Regions from separate parts of the Homo sapiens genome. Here regions 1, 2, 4 and 5 are each linked to region 3. The links are contacts of gene promoters, found by promoter capture Hi-C in human tissues and cell types (Jung and others, 2019). All regions are on one chromosome and are shown on one strand. Each heading gives the region's core, a stretch centred on a gene start or on the middle of the fragment in contact. The rest is flanking DNA. Distances are from core to core; before and after follow the strand shown.

Region 1 (2,700 bases), core at 6-2,505, 130 kb before region 3:
CTCTGCTGATCACAGTTGTGTGACCAAGTCAAGTTACGTCTCTTTGCCTCCTTTTCCTCATTTGTAAAATGGGGACCAAAATAGTACCCATGCCAGTGGCTGTTGTGGTGATTAATTGAATTAATACAAATAAAGTACAGGCCCTGCCACACAGAAGTACTCAATACAAGTAGCTATTAAATAGCTATTATCTGTTAAATGGGGCTAACAAATAGGGTTTATTTTGCTGCCAGGATAAAGAGGAGAAAATTCCAGGAAAGCACTTAGCACAAGAACTAGCACATGGTAAGCACCAGATAATATTGCTCTTTAGTATTATGGTGGTGGTAGTTGTTGGCCGCTGGGGGTAGGGAGGAGAGAAGGGCAGGCAGGACAAAGCATTAATTAGCTCCCCCTCCTCTCTTTCTGAGTTCCGGGCCCTCCATTTGGCCCCACGCCCTTGGCTGCCAAGTGTCGCCTCCAGATCCCCCGCCATGAATCCCCCCGGAAGCGGGAGCAAAGGGAAGGCAGATTCTGGCCGCTCTCCTCTGTTCTCAATCAAATGTGCTGCTTTTCTGCCTGGCTTCACACATTGTAAAAGGCAGCCATGTTCAGATTGCTCAGTGTCCACACATCGGGCTCCTCCTGACCCGCTGTTTGCCTGCAGATGGGTTCGAAGCCCATTATTGTAATGGATTTGCTGTTGGGTAGAAGAAGGGGTTGTCCGCCTAATAAATCTTTGCCCCAGTGGATCGCATCCAATAGACCATCCTCCACACCACGGTTTTGCTCTGACGGATTTGTTTAGTGATTTCTGAAAGACAGATAAGCTCCAATGAGTGCCCTGAGATAATATAGCAAGACATCATGAAGATGGAAAAAGAAACGCAGGACTTTTTTGGAGCAATAATTTAAGGATTTTTTCCTTTTCTTTTCTTTTTTCTCTTCTTGTCTTTTCTTGGTCCACCTTCTGAAAGTGTTGTAATACCATCTTGCTGTTAGGTTAAAAAAACAAAGTGCTGCTAATGAGATGCGTAGAAAAGTAAAAACATGTCATGCAAATTAGACACCTTTGGGGATTTTGAAAAACCTGTTTGAAGGGCTAATTAAGAAGCTATTAAAAATAATTCATAATAATCTGCTTTCCCCAAATTCTTTTCAGTTCAGAAGTGTAAGTGATGCCATTTTTATTTCACTTTTTGAAATACATAAGTAGCAGGCCCCTCGTTTACCTGGACACATTTGTTTAAGCAACAGGTCCCTCGTTTACCTGGAAATACTTTTCAAAACCTTTAATGACTTTTATTAAGGTAATCCCATTTGTCCCCTTCCTCCTGACATATTCCTTTTCTGCTTGAGCTGGTTCTTGCAGCAGATTGTTCAGCAAATGCGGTCAGCGCACCATCGCAGGAGTGACTCTAAGTCTCACTGGGAGAAAATTGTTGTGAGTTACAGGAAATTAAAAAATTCCTGCAATACCAACCCACTTCTCAAAGTCAATCTGTGGTATCCCAGCATCCACTCGACTCTGAAGTCAGGCCAGAATGATTTTTGAAGAGTAATTTCCAGCCTTATAAGGGGTCACGTCGTGTATTGAAGCCATATTTGCTTCTGTGTTTTGTAAATTTCAAACTCATTACTAAACCTTGTCTCTTATACCTTGTGTCTGGCTCTTACCTTGCCCTCATCAATCTGAGCCTTGAAAATCTAATGAAGAATGGCACACATTTTGCATGTGGAAATGTGATAAAACACCAATTGTTAGGAACCTGAGGAGGAATCAGTTTTCGAGGATGGGCGGGGAGGCGGGCCTCTGTTCTTAGAGCCAGCTCACTGCTAGGTCTCTGCAAGTCCCCAGGAATAAAGAGAAACAAACAGGATTTTCCCACTCTCCTCTGAGCCCCACTGTTCCCTGTCTTTGAGATAAGCCACAGGCCGTGTCTGCGCCACAAGCTTTCAAACCGTTCATGCTCTAAGAGCCAGGCGATAAGATGAGCTCTGTAACATTTTCCTTATAGAAAGCAGAGGTCTCTGTGTTCTGCAGAACAATATTACCCTTTACTTGTGTTCCAAGATAGTAGCTCAGTTAAGCTGTGAACACCTTGAGAATTTCACATGGTATCTCATAATGGACACAGAAACTACATGCCTGGGTTCTGTGATTTTCTCCAAGGAAATCTATAGAGGATGGAGTGGCAGATAATCATGGCCTTTGGGGCATTACAAAGGTTGATGAAAGCTGTGGGACCTTCTCCTAAACATGCACTCATGCACACACACACACATATGCACACACACACAGCCTGTCTCTCGAGCTCTCATTCTTGTTATCTCTTGCATCCCATTTTAGAGAGTCCACACTAAAAACCTTTGGTGCAAGTAAGCATCACACCGCAGCTCCCTTCACCTGAATAGACAGGAGTCAGCTTGGAGAAATGGAAAAATCGTGAACTTTGGAGGCAGGCTGACACGTTTGCAAACCAGCTCTGCTATTTCCTAGCTGTGTGGCCTTGGACGAGTCACTTGACCTCCCTGGGTCTTGGCTTTCTCATCTGCAAGTGGTGACAATAATACCTACTTTTCAGGTTTGTGCTGAGAATGGGCAAAGGGCTAGGTAGATGGAGACTCATCTATTAGGTCAGATGGTTCTAGGCTCTGTTTTGGGAAGGAAGGGGTAGGTAGATCCACCAAGGGGGTTGAGGCAAATCAGTGCTTAGTGCT
Region 2 (2,700 bases), core at 6-2,505, 220 kb before region 3:
ATCCTCTGATGGGAGCTGGGGCCTCACCAGAGCAGGAGCTTCACAACACCTTGTTGCTGTCATGAATCTTCCAAAGGTCCTGTGGACACCTAGAAACTCAAGGTTGCATTTACCACGACAAAAACTAAGCAAACAAACAAAAACACTTCTACTTCCTGTGATGCAGCCAATGTCCCCCGCGGGAGTCGGGTGAAGAACATGTGTTCCACTGCTCCACCCGTCTCCATGGCCATCATTCTGAACGTGGTGTCATCATGGCAGCATCCTTTCACCCTCTCCCCAATCCTGACATAAGCTGCACCGCCGTGAAAGCAGTCTAGAGTGGTAGAAAAAGCTCCTTCTAACCCTATGGCTCATTTCCAAGCCTGCTGGTTGATGAAACCCATTGCAATGACCTCCACGAAGCACAGGAAAATGGGTCACTCCCTGAATTGCCAAGTCTGCCAAAAATAGGTATGTTACATCATTGCCACACGGGACCTGACTCTTACTCAAACAAGTGTGCAATTTAGGGGGGTTTTCTGAGTAATTTGCCAGCCAAAAAAAGACGCTGCCATTCAGGGAGCTCTTATTATCTCAGAATAACAGGCAGTACGTGTCTATCCTTACCTTGTGCTGGGAGCTATTCTCCACCCTTTACCATATTAACTCATTAATTCTCACAACTCCATGAGGTGGGTATAACTGTCATCACTATTTTACAGATAAGAAAATCAAGGCACAAAGAGTTTGTATCACTTATCTGAAGTCATCCAGCTAGAAAGGAATAAGGACTGGATTCAGGCTCTTAACGGCTCACTCTGCAGGGTCTCACGCAAAGCCATATGAGATGATGCTAAGTCTGCAGCGGTGGGACCTGAACTAGCAGCTGCCTGTCCCACGGCTCTGGTTGCCCCATGGTTTGCAGGGCTACAGTTCTGCTCCCCAGCCCTTCAGGCACATTACAGCCTGGTCCACCAGACAACTTTCTAGGTGACGGCATTGCATCCATGGGCATTGCCAGGGCCTCCGCCCGCCAGGTTCCTAACCACGTAACTCTCAAAGGAAACGAACGCCTCCCCCGGGCAGCCATCTTTATTTTAGACGGTGATGTAAAAATTCCAGTTCCCTTAGCAAGGAGCTCTGTGCTGAAGACAAGGTTTGCCTCTGTCCAGAAAGGCAGTTTCAAGGTAAAAATTGAATATCCCTAGAGTGACAAGGCATTTTGTCTCCCATTAATTTTGAGAGAGAAAAATGGGGAGAAAGAAGCAAAGACAAACGCACAAGCTCCCTCCTCACTCTTCACCCCCGCCCCAGGCAGAAAGGAAGCTAAGGAAAGCCTAGCGCCTCTCTCCCTCTGTCTCTCTGCTGGCTGCCTTTAGCTGTGGGAGGAAATAAGCTACAAACATTCCGCAGGAGATGCACACGTGGACAAGCTTGTATGTCATCTTAGAGTGTTCACGGGGTGCTCACATTCAGAAGGGACCTGGGAGATGACCCAGTTCATCACTGTCCAACAGAAATAGAATGTGAACCACATACATCATTTTAAATTCTGTAGAAGCCACAGCAAAAAAAGAAAAACAGCAATTTAATATATCCAAAATATTATCATTTCAGCATGTCATCACTATAAAAATTATTGGATTATTTTACATTCTTTTTGTTATATTAAATGTGTATTTCACACTCACAGAATTTCTCCTTTTGGATTCAATTAGCTTCCTTTCAAATGCTCAGTGTCACCTGTGGTGAGAGGCCACCGCATGGGACAACAGAAGCCTAACACATCACTCCATCTGATGGATGATCACAGATCTTCTTCAACATCCTTTAAGGAATCATCTAGTTCCTTGCTACTCACATACGGCCAATTGGCAGCAACAGCATCACCTGAGTTTGTTAGAGATGTAGACTCTCAGGCCCCACCCAGAACCTATTTAAATCAGAATCTACTGATGCTCTCCTCAGGTGATTCATCTGCTCCTGCACGTGAAACTCTGAAAACCCCATTATCTCCTCTTAAGCACTTCCTGTGGCAGGGAACTCACCATCCCATCCCCAAGGAAGCCCGTGCCATCTTTAAATGGGTCTAGTTATTAGAAAGGCATTTATCCTTTCTTTATTGAGTGCTCCCTATGAGCCTGGCACTGTGCTAAGCACATCCCGTGAATTATCTCATTTAAGCCCAGCACAGCCCTAAAAGAGTGGAACTAATTTTGGCTCCTTTCATATAATTAAGGGAAAAGAAGCCCCATAAACCTGGATAACTGGCCCCAGATCATGTGGCTGGCCAGAACTCTGTTTCTGTGCCTGTTTCCTGAGCCACTCACTGCACCAGGGTCTCCCTGTCCCTTCTGCCCGATGCCACACAGACCCCAGGAGTCTTTTCCAGTTTCAAAGAAAAGCGTTGTTGGCGCTCGGGAGAGATGGTCTTCAGTACCAGACTTTATATTTTTGTGGACTTCATTAATTGCTGATTTCATTCTTTCATTTGTTTTCATTCAGTATGTCATTTCTCACTTAAATACACTCTGTTGGTACCTGCCCGCTCAGCATTTACTTTCCTCATCAAGGTTTAGAACAAGTTTAGAAATGGGCAACTAAGCAAACAGGCAGAAATGAATGAAAGTCATAAGATGCCATTAGATCACGCAAAGGTTCCTGGTTTCCAATTAAATAAGGTACATGGCTGGAAAAATCAGGTAAGCTACACATATT
Region 3 (2,700 bases), core at 144-2,643:
TGGACTGAAGGGGCGCAAAGTGGGTGGTGAACAGGGTCGAACGCAGTCGAAAGCAAGCCTGGCGGCCGAGTCCTGTCCGCGCCCCTCGGAGCCAGGACGGTTGGGGGCATTGCCGAGGGTACCAGGAGCCTGGGGATCCCGCGGGCTCTGGGCTCCGCGGCGCCGGGCACGCACAGCCCAGCCTGCTCTGATTCGAGCGCACTGGGGGACAACTTCTCCGTTCGCACCCCTTCCCAAAGGGTCAAGCGGCCCGCAGGCCATCACTCCAAACCAGTCGTAGCTTCGGAGACTGGGGATCGACACCACGCCCGGCCCCGCGCCGCCTAGTTTCCCAACAGGGCGCGCTGGCCCGCGAGCCGGAGGAACCTCCGCCCAGGCCTTGCCAAGCGCCCACCCGGAGCAGGCCGGGGGCAGTGAAGGATGCGGCGGGAGCGGCGCGCTGCAGTTCCGCGACGTGGCACGTACCTTGGAAGCGATGACCCAGATATCGGTAGCGGTGGATGAGCCAGGGGTAGAAGGTGGACGGATCCCGCTGCTGCGAGGCGAATAGGGGGTGTGGCGAGTGCGAGGAGGGTAGGGGGTGGGCGGCCAGGGCGTGCGGCGGCGGCACCGGGTGCACTGGCACGGCGGGGTTGGGCGGGTGCGAGACCGCCTCGGCGAACACCAAGTCCGGGTTGGAGTAGACGCCCCTACCGGCGGCGGCGGCGGCGGCCGAGTGGAAGCCGTTGAGGAACGGATTTATGGGGCTGGAGTTAGCGTAGCTGAGTGCCGCGGGACGGATGGGGTCCTCGGAGCGCGAGGCGGGCAGGGGACTGTCCTTGGCCACCAGCGACTCGATGGTGAAGCAGCGCTTGGGCGCCGGCTGGAACATGCTGCGCCGAGGAGCGGGCGCCCTGGGCTCCCAGCTCCTGGCGACCGCCGCACGCTGCCTCCGCCGCCCGCTGCCCGCGGCGAGGACGGACGAGAATTGGGGACTCGTTTGTTTGGGGTGGGGGTGGGGGTGGGGGGAAGGAAAGGAAGAAAGAAAGGAAAGGAAAGGAAAAAGGAAAGGAGGGGGGAGGGAGAGGGAGAGGCAAAGCCGAGGATCCCGAGAATCTTGCACCAAACGCGCCCAACCTGAAGAGAGGGGGGAAAATCCTTCCAGAAGAATTTGCAGGCGTGGATTGGGGTAATTTTTTTTCTTTTTTTTTCTTTTTTTTTCTTTTTTTTTTTTTTTTTTTTTTTTGGCGAGATGGCGTGGGGGGATCGGAGTTAGAGGCAGGGAGGAGAAGGGGGGAAAGTTCTCGGGGGAGGCAAAAAAAAAAAAAAGTTTTTTCTCCTCTGCAAAAGGCGGGCAGGGCGCCCTAAGTCCAAGGACAATCCATGGAAGTGTTCGCTTCTTCACAAGTTGTGCAAACGATTTGTTAGTTCATGAGCCTAATTAGTGCGGGGATCACATAAACAGCTTCCTCCGAAGCCTGGTAAATGGCTTGATGATTGGTCGCTATTACTCGCCCTGAGGTGGAAGGGGGGAGACTCTTTAAAGTGCGTCAGAGGGAGGTGAGCGCCTGGGAACCCGGAGGCCTGGATCCGGGCCGAGAGTGGAACGGAGTCGGCGCCGCCGCCTCGGCTGAGCCTTCTGCCGCCCACCGGGCGGCCGGGCTTCTCCGCGCCTTCGCCCCTCGCTCCCAGCTCACTCGCTCCTGCGGCGCCCGCTGCGGCTTCTCCTCCTCCTTCGCCTCCTCCTCTTCCTCCAGTTTCTTCTTCTCCTCCTCCTCCTCTTCTTCCTCCTCCTCCTCTTCTTCCTCCTCCTCTTTCCCCACCTACTCCCCCTCAGCCACCGCCTCCTCCTCCACCAGCACCACTCCCTCCGGGGCACCCCGGTCCCTGCAGAGTCCCTGGCCGGCGCCGCCTCCGCTGCGGCCCCCTGAATCCCGAGCCTGCCTCGCCCAAGCTGGTAGGACAGAAGGACAGACAGATTCCTCTAGCCTAGCGCTCCGCCGCTGCTGCCTTACGCGGCCCCGCGTCGGGAGAACTGGGATCGCCCCAAGAGCACCGCGAGGGTAAGCGGGCAGGGGCTGGTTCCCGGGCTAAAGGCGCCGTTCGGTTATACCAATCCCCACACTTAGCAAAACTCCCAGCGGTTTCCTAGGCCAGGAGGGATCCTGGAGTGAGGGGTACGGGGTCCTCCCACCCCATCAACCACGCTTAGCCTCGAGGTCCCAGGGTCGGTGCGTTCGCGATTCTTGACCCGGCTCGTTCGTTTGCGAGTTGAGACCGGGAGCTGCCGACCCCGCCGGAGCAGTGGGCTTCCAACTCTCTCCCTCTCTCGCCCCACGGTCTCTAGCGTTTTCTGTCTGGGAGGGTGCTCACCTCCTTCCCCAAAACAATTCCTTCTGGAATATCTGGGACCGGCAGTCCAAGGTCAGGGGAGAGCCCGATATGGTGCTACTGTACTATTAAGGTTCCGTCGTAATTATTTTTGTCAGTGTGGTCAATGTTATTATTATTATAGATGATATTATTTTATTATTATTATTTCTATTATTATTATTATGCCATCTGTTGTCCCGGGGTTGGTGGGGGGGTGGTGGTTGCTGTGCAAACCCAGTGCAACTAACGACTACGGATCGCATCTCCGGTCCCGGGCCGTGTCCGCATTTTCGAGCTCGCCTTCGGTTTTGGGATGATTTTAGGACCGAGTTCCCTCGTCCCCATTGG
Region 4 (2,700 bases), core at 30-2,529, 240 kb before region 3:
TGTTGGGTATTTTCCATGTTCCAGTACTGTGCTAGGCATAGTAGGTCCATGAATATGAGCCTGGAATGAGTCCTGCCTTCAACTATATGACAATCTAGTAAGGAAAATTCATGGGAAGTCACAGGCAGAGCAGATAGCTCTACTTGGGGACAAAAAGAGAGTTCAGAGGGAAGTTCAGAGGAAGGCAAAAATATTTCAGTAGAGGGAAGCCGAGAGGGCTTCTTAGATGAGGTGACATCAGAGCAAACCTACCTTTAATTCCTGAAGCAGTACCTTTCTCCGACTTTCATGGTCTGCGTCCTCAGTGCTGTGTGACCTTATCCCCCAGGCTCTTCTCAAAACACAAATAGTAGAAGGAGTGATAACACAGCAAGCCAAACTGTGGCAGATACTGACTCTGTCCTGTGTCACATCCCTCAAGCTGTCTCTGACTTCATCTTTGATACCACCAAAAGCAATGGGTAGTGTTCTGCATGCTGGCAGGTTTCTATGTTAAGGGCCTGATGAGTATCTCCACCTCGGGCTCTGCTTTAGAACCTTCTCCAAAATCAGGGAATCCCATGGAGCCCACCTACAAGTTCAGTGTGAGGTTGGGGGAGAATGAGCCCTGCTGGGGCAACCTTTGAGCAATGAAGGATGGAGCCTGTGGGTAAATGCTCTGGTGTCCTGTCCTTTAGCCAGAATATTCTGGAAGGCAGTCTGCAGGCTTCCCCAAGTTTCAGGCAGCTGAGCCCCCAAGACCTACAGCAGCAAACTCAACAACACACCTTCATGCTGGGCACTTCCTCCCTGTTACACTTCCCCTCTCCCTCGCTCATCATCATTATCATACAATAACTTGTATAGGATATTATAATTTGTACAGTGCTGTCAAACAAAACACAACAAAACCTCAGTGGCTGAGCACAATGAACCTTCATTTTGAGCTCATATTCCATGTCAGTCTGGGTTGGGGGGTCTGTTCTGCATTCTTCTCCTTTGGGGACTCAAGGCAACAGAGCCTCCACTGTGGAACATATCCAGTTTGTGGCAGGGGAGAGAAACATGGCGAATTGAGCACCAGATCTTCAAGCTTCTGCCAGAAAGTGACCCTCCTCACTTTGGGCCACATCCCACCGGCCAAAGCAAGTCACTTGTTCATGTCCAATTTCATCTAGGAGAAAAAGGCAGCCCAACCTTGTCCTTAGAGGGAAGAAAATGGGACTGCAGAGGAACAGCCCCCAGGGCCACCATGTTATTCTCCCTGAAAAGCCAGCTCTGTGCCCTACACTGGACCAGAAGCCCTTGATGTCGTGGGGATGGAGGGAGCAAGATACAGTGTAGAGGGAAGCAGAATACCCCAGCTCTGTCCTCGGGAGCTCCCAGAGCCTGGGTCCTCTTTTTGCCGCAGAACCTTGTACCTGCTCCTCCCTCTGCCTGGACCTCTCTTCTTGCTCACTCATGGCCCCAGTTCTTATTCATTCTGCACATCTCAGGACAAATCTTATATCCTCAGAGAGCTCTAGCTTCCCTCCCCGCCACAATTGTCAAAGACAGATCTTCTCTCTTATTCTCTCACATTCTATTTTTTTCATCGCAGCACTCATCACATTTGTAACTGTATATTGAATGTGGTGGTTTTATTGGTAGGCACCCCACTAGACTATAAACACCGTAAAAGCTGAGACCACACCTGTTTTTCCTGGTTGTATCTCTACCATCTACCAGTCACACACATAGTAGATGCCCAGTAAATATTTACCAAAAGAACTCATCAGGGAGACAAGAAATACATGAAATGAGCAGAAAATAATTTAAAGAAGTATAAAACCCCCTTTATGTTTATATATTTGATTCACATTACCCTTTGCTAAACCCAAAGGTAGATGTAAAAACTCTAGGGAAGGGGCCGGGCATGGTGGCTCACGCCTGTAATCCCAGCACTTTGGGAGGCCGAGGTGGACAGATCACGAGGTCAGGAGATCGAGACCATCCTGGCTAACACAGTGAAACCCCATCTCTACTAAAAATACAAAAAATTAGCTGGGCATGGTGGTGGGTGCCTATAGTCCAAGCTACTCGGGAGGCTGACTCAGGAGAATGGCATGAACCTGGGAGGCAGAGCTTGCAGTGAGCTGAGATCGCACCACTGCACTTCAGCCAGGGCAACAGAGCGAGACTCCGTCAAAAAAAAAACAAAACTGTAGGGAAACTGGAGAGCCTTCCATGTAAGTGGTTAATTATTATTCTTTCCCATAGTTCTACTTATTTCCCCAACATTCCTGGTACAAGGACCCGGGATTTTTATCCCCATCTTAGAGATGAGGAGACTCAGAGAGGGGCAGTGACCTACTTAAGGTCACCTGGATAGTATTCTGATTTGCAGTCCTAAGCTGCTCCCTCCATGTGACTCTTCCTAATGCAGCCTCCAACCAAATGCTTGGAATCTGGTTGTTTGATTAAATGTGGCTGCTGTTAAGTTTAAGTCCATAATTAGAATGGCTAAGACATATCGCACATCCTTCGAGTTCATGATCTTGTTTAATTTTTCTCAGCAGACTCTTGCATTGCTTCCTCTAGAAAAACATGGATAATTGGAAAAGGGCATGAAGTTCTCAGGAAGGGAAGGCCCTGAGTGCCCATAGGGTTTTCCACCAGCAACCCAGCCACGTGGTTTTATCTTCACTGCTGAATTTGGTCAGTTTTGCATCTTTACCACAC
Region 5 (2,700 bases), core at 14-2,513, 200 kb before region 3:
TATTTTGGGGTCAGCTAATAGTTATTGCCTGCTTATTCTGTGGCAAACACCATTCAAAATGCTTTTCTATATATTGCATAATTGACTCCTCCCAATCCAGTTACGACCTTACCTTTATGGATGAGGAAACTGAGGCATAGAGAAATAATATAATTTGCTCAAGCTAGTAAGCAAGGAATGGGGCCTCCATCCCCAGTGACTCCTCATTCCCATTCTTGCACTCATTCAGCATGGAGTTGCTCTTGGTCACCCATGAGTTCAAAGCAAGCAGTGAACATACCTTCGTCGTCCTCATGCCCCATCATACAGCCTAAATCGGCCTCCTTGGAAGTCATGGTCTAAAGGCAGGAACCCTCCCAAGGGCATATTGGCATCCCGGTAAAGTCACCGGTAACCTGAGCACCATGCCAGGGCCCAGCAGCCCATTTAGAGTGGCACCACAATCCCAGAGGCAGCTGACATCCCCTTCACAACCTTACTAGATTCACCCAGTGGCTTCATGAAGGGAGTATTTTTACTATTTCGGACCACCCTGTCATTTAAGCCAAAATAAATTCAGCCCCTGGGGCCAGAGGCAGGTCTGATGTGAATGTGGAGAGAAACCCAAGGCTACACCGCCTCTCGAACACATGCATCCTGGCCCTCCAAGGTGTTGCTCACACTGGGGGAGGTCCAGGCCCACAGCGAGCACCTGGGACGGAGCGTGTTCCCTTGCCTTGCACCTTGCTCAAGTCCAGGGTGTTGACCACAAGCCTTTAACACAAAAGCAGCGAGCTGCTGGGTAGGTGGACAGGTTGTGGAATTGGCCGCCAGACACTCAACAGGGGTATTATGTGGGTGGTAGATGCCCTAAGAATAGGGAGGGCTGGGCTGGGCACGGTGGCTCATGCCTACAATCCCAGTACTTTGGGGTGCCAAGGCGAGCAGATCACCTGAAGCCAGGAGTTCAAGACCAACCTGTCCAACATGGTGAAACCCCATCTCTACAAAAATACAAAAACCAGCCAGGTGTGGTGATGCGCACCTGTAATCCCAGCTACTCAGGAGGCTGAGGCACAATAATCATTTGAACCTGGGAGATGGAGGTTGCAGTGAGCTGAGATCACACCCCTGCACTCCAGCCTGGGCATCAGAGCAAGACTCTCAAAAACTAAAAATATTAAAAAAACAAAACAAAAAAAAACAATAAGAAGGGCTGAAAAACATGAAAGTGCTGAGGTTGTGGGGAGGAGTCACTCAAGATATATGTGCAGCTAAAGCGGAAAGTTCTGAAGCAGAAGAGAAAGGCAGCCTTCTCCCCAAGCTGGTGTGAGGATTCTGCAGAGCTGCAACAAAGCTGCGGGGATTGGAGTCAGCTGCACTTGGTTCAGAGACCAGCTCCTCTGTTCATTAGCTCCAGTTCTTTCACCTTTCAATGTCTTGGCCCATAAAATGGATGCAATTTCAGTCTCGACTCCCAGGGCTGCAGAAGGCCCACTGGGGTTGACCACATAAAGCACCAGCACCAGGCCTGGCCTGCAGGCATCTGCAAGTGTTGACCCAGGTGCCTTTGAATCCAATCCTTCTAGAAAAAGATTTTTTTTTAAAGTAACAGATTTAATTCTCTAATAATCTGCATCATCAAATGAGACATCTCACTGTCTTATTTTTATAGCCGTTTTGCAATTTTTTAAAATCACTTCTTCATTTTCCATGGGCCATGCATCCTGAACTAGAGGGCATGAACTTTGAGGTGGGCCCAGCATGGACCAGAGCCATGGAACTGAGTGTTTCTGAGGTCAGCAGTTTGCACTTCACAGAGCGCTTCCCTGTATATTATCTTCTTTAATCCTCATTCACGGTGGCCCTGGGGGGCAGGTAGAGCTGACCTCATTACCCCCGTTTACAAACAAGGAAATGGAGATTCCCCAAGGGTTTCAGTTAGGAAGCAGCAGCTCTGGGGCTCTAAGCCAGGTCTTCGAACTCTAAGCACAGGGTGTTTTTCGTAACACCTGAGCAATCAGAGACTCAGCACCCTCTGGGCTGCCTGCACATCAGCACTTGGGCACCATGACTCTCCGACAGAGGCCTCATGCAGGATGAGGGTAACAGCAGGGACCCTGGAGCAAAGGGTCTCCGAGTTCAAGTCCCAGCTCTGCCAGTTTCTAGCCCCGCGATCATGGGCAAGCAGCAGGATCTGCCTCACCTATAAAATGGGGGTGATGTTACTCCCCACCACCTAGGGTTGCTGCGAAGATTTCAACAGCTAACAGTATGTGTCAACCAGTTAGAACAGGGCCTGGTATGTAGTAAGAGCCGTAATATGTCGCTACTGATCTCCTATGCAGGGAGCTACCCCCTCCCACCCACCTTCTCTGTTTGCTTCTGTGGCTTTGTGCCCCAAGAGGGCTGAGGCTGTGTCCTATCCCTTTTGGGGACTGAAACAGAGGGGCAGTGCAGCATAATGGTTAGGAGTGTAGGTCCTGGTTCCAAGCCCAGATCCTGCAACCTCCTGGCCATGTGATCTGTTTCTGTGTTGAGCCTCAGTTTCCTCCTATAAGAAGGGGACAATAAAAGAACCTATTCGTGAGTATTGTATGAAGTCATGTAACACACATGAAGCACCTAGAACAGTTCCTGGCACATGGGAAGTGCTAAACAAGTGTTAGCTATTATTGTATCTGTGTCCCCAGCACCCACCACTGTGCCCAATGGTGCTAA

The links. Contacts are between HindIII fragments. The study calls those that stand out against the background at their distance.
Region 1: a contact is called between a fragment that was not itself captured here and the fragment with the promoter of EMX2 in region 3, in 1 of the 25 tissues and cell types used here (H1 embryonic stem cells).
Region 2: a fragment that was not itself captured here is called in contact with the fragment with the promoter of EMX2 in region 3 in 1 of the 25 tissues and cell types used here (lymphoblastoid cells).
Region 4: a contact is called between a fragment that was not itself captured here and the fragment with the promoter of EMX2 in region 3, in 1 of the 25 tissues and cell types used here (lymphoblastoid cells).
Region 5: a fragment that was not itself captured here is called in contact with the fragment with the promoter of EMX2 in region 3 in 1 of the 25 tissues and cell types used here (H1 embryonic stem cells).

The regions. Positions count from the first base shown.
Region 1 is chr10:117,673,594-117,676,293 of GRCh38, reverse strand. No RefSeq gene overlaps it. Among named protein-coding and RNA genes, the nearest start is that of LINC02674, 60 kb to the left of the region's middle. The HindIII fragment of the contact is 3,786 bases long and covers 1-2,700 here.
Region 2 is chr10:117,760,599-117,763,298 of GRCh38, reverse strand. No RefSeq gene overlaps it. Among named protein-coding and RNA genes, the nearest start is that of LINC02674, 27 kb to the right of the region's middle. The HindIII fragment of the contact is 4,904 bases long and covers 1-2,700 here.
Region 3 is chr10:117,541,439-117,544,138 of GRCh38, reverse strand. It overlaps EMX2 (empty spiracles homeobox 2), which reads right to left and starts at 1,393. Exons shown (of 3, transcript NM_004098.4): 1 at 466-1,393. The coding sequence starts at 871. It also overlaps EMX2OS. RefSeq lists an enhancer at 1-178. The HindIII fragment of the contact is 12,526 bases long and covers 1-2,700 here.
Region 4 is chr10:117,776,891-117,779,590 of GRCh38, reverse strand. No RefSeq gene overlaps it. Among named protein-coding and RNA genes, the nearest start is that of LINC02674, 43 kb to the right of the region's middle. The HindIII fragment of the contact is 5,618 bases long and covers 1-2,700 here.
Region 5 is chr10:117,737,181-117,739,880 of GRCh38, reverse strand. The region is part of intron 2 of LINC02674 (long intergenic non-protein coding RNA 2674); the gene reads right to left. Among named protein-coding and RNA genes, the nearest start is that of LINC02674, 3.6 kb to the right of the region's middle. The HindIII fragment of the contact is 8,709 bases long and covers 1-2,700 here.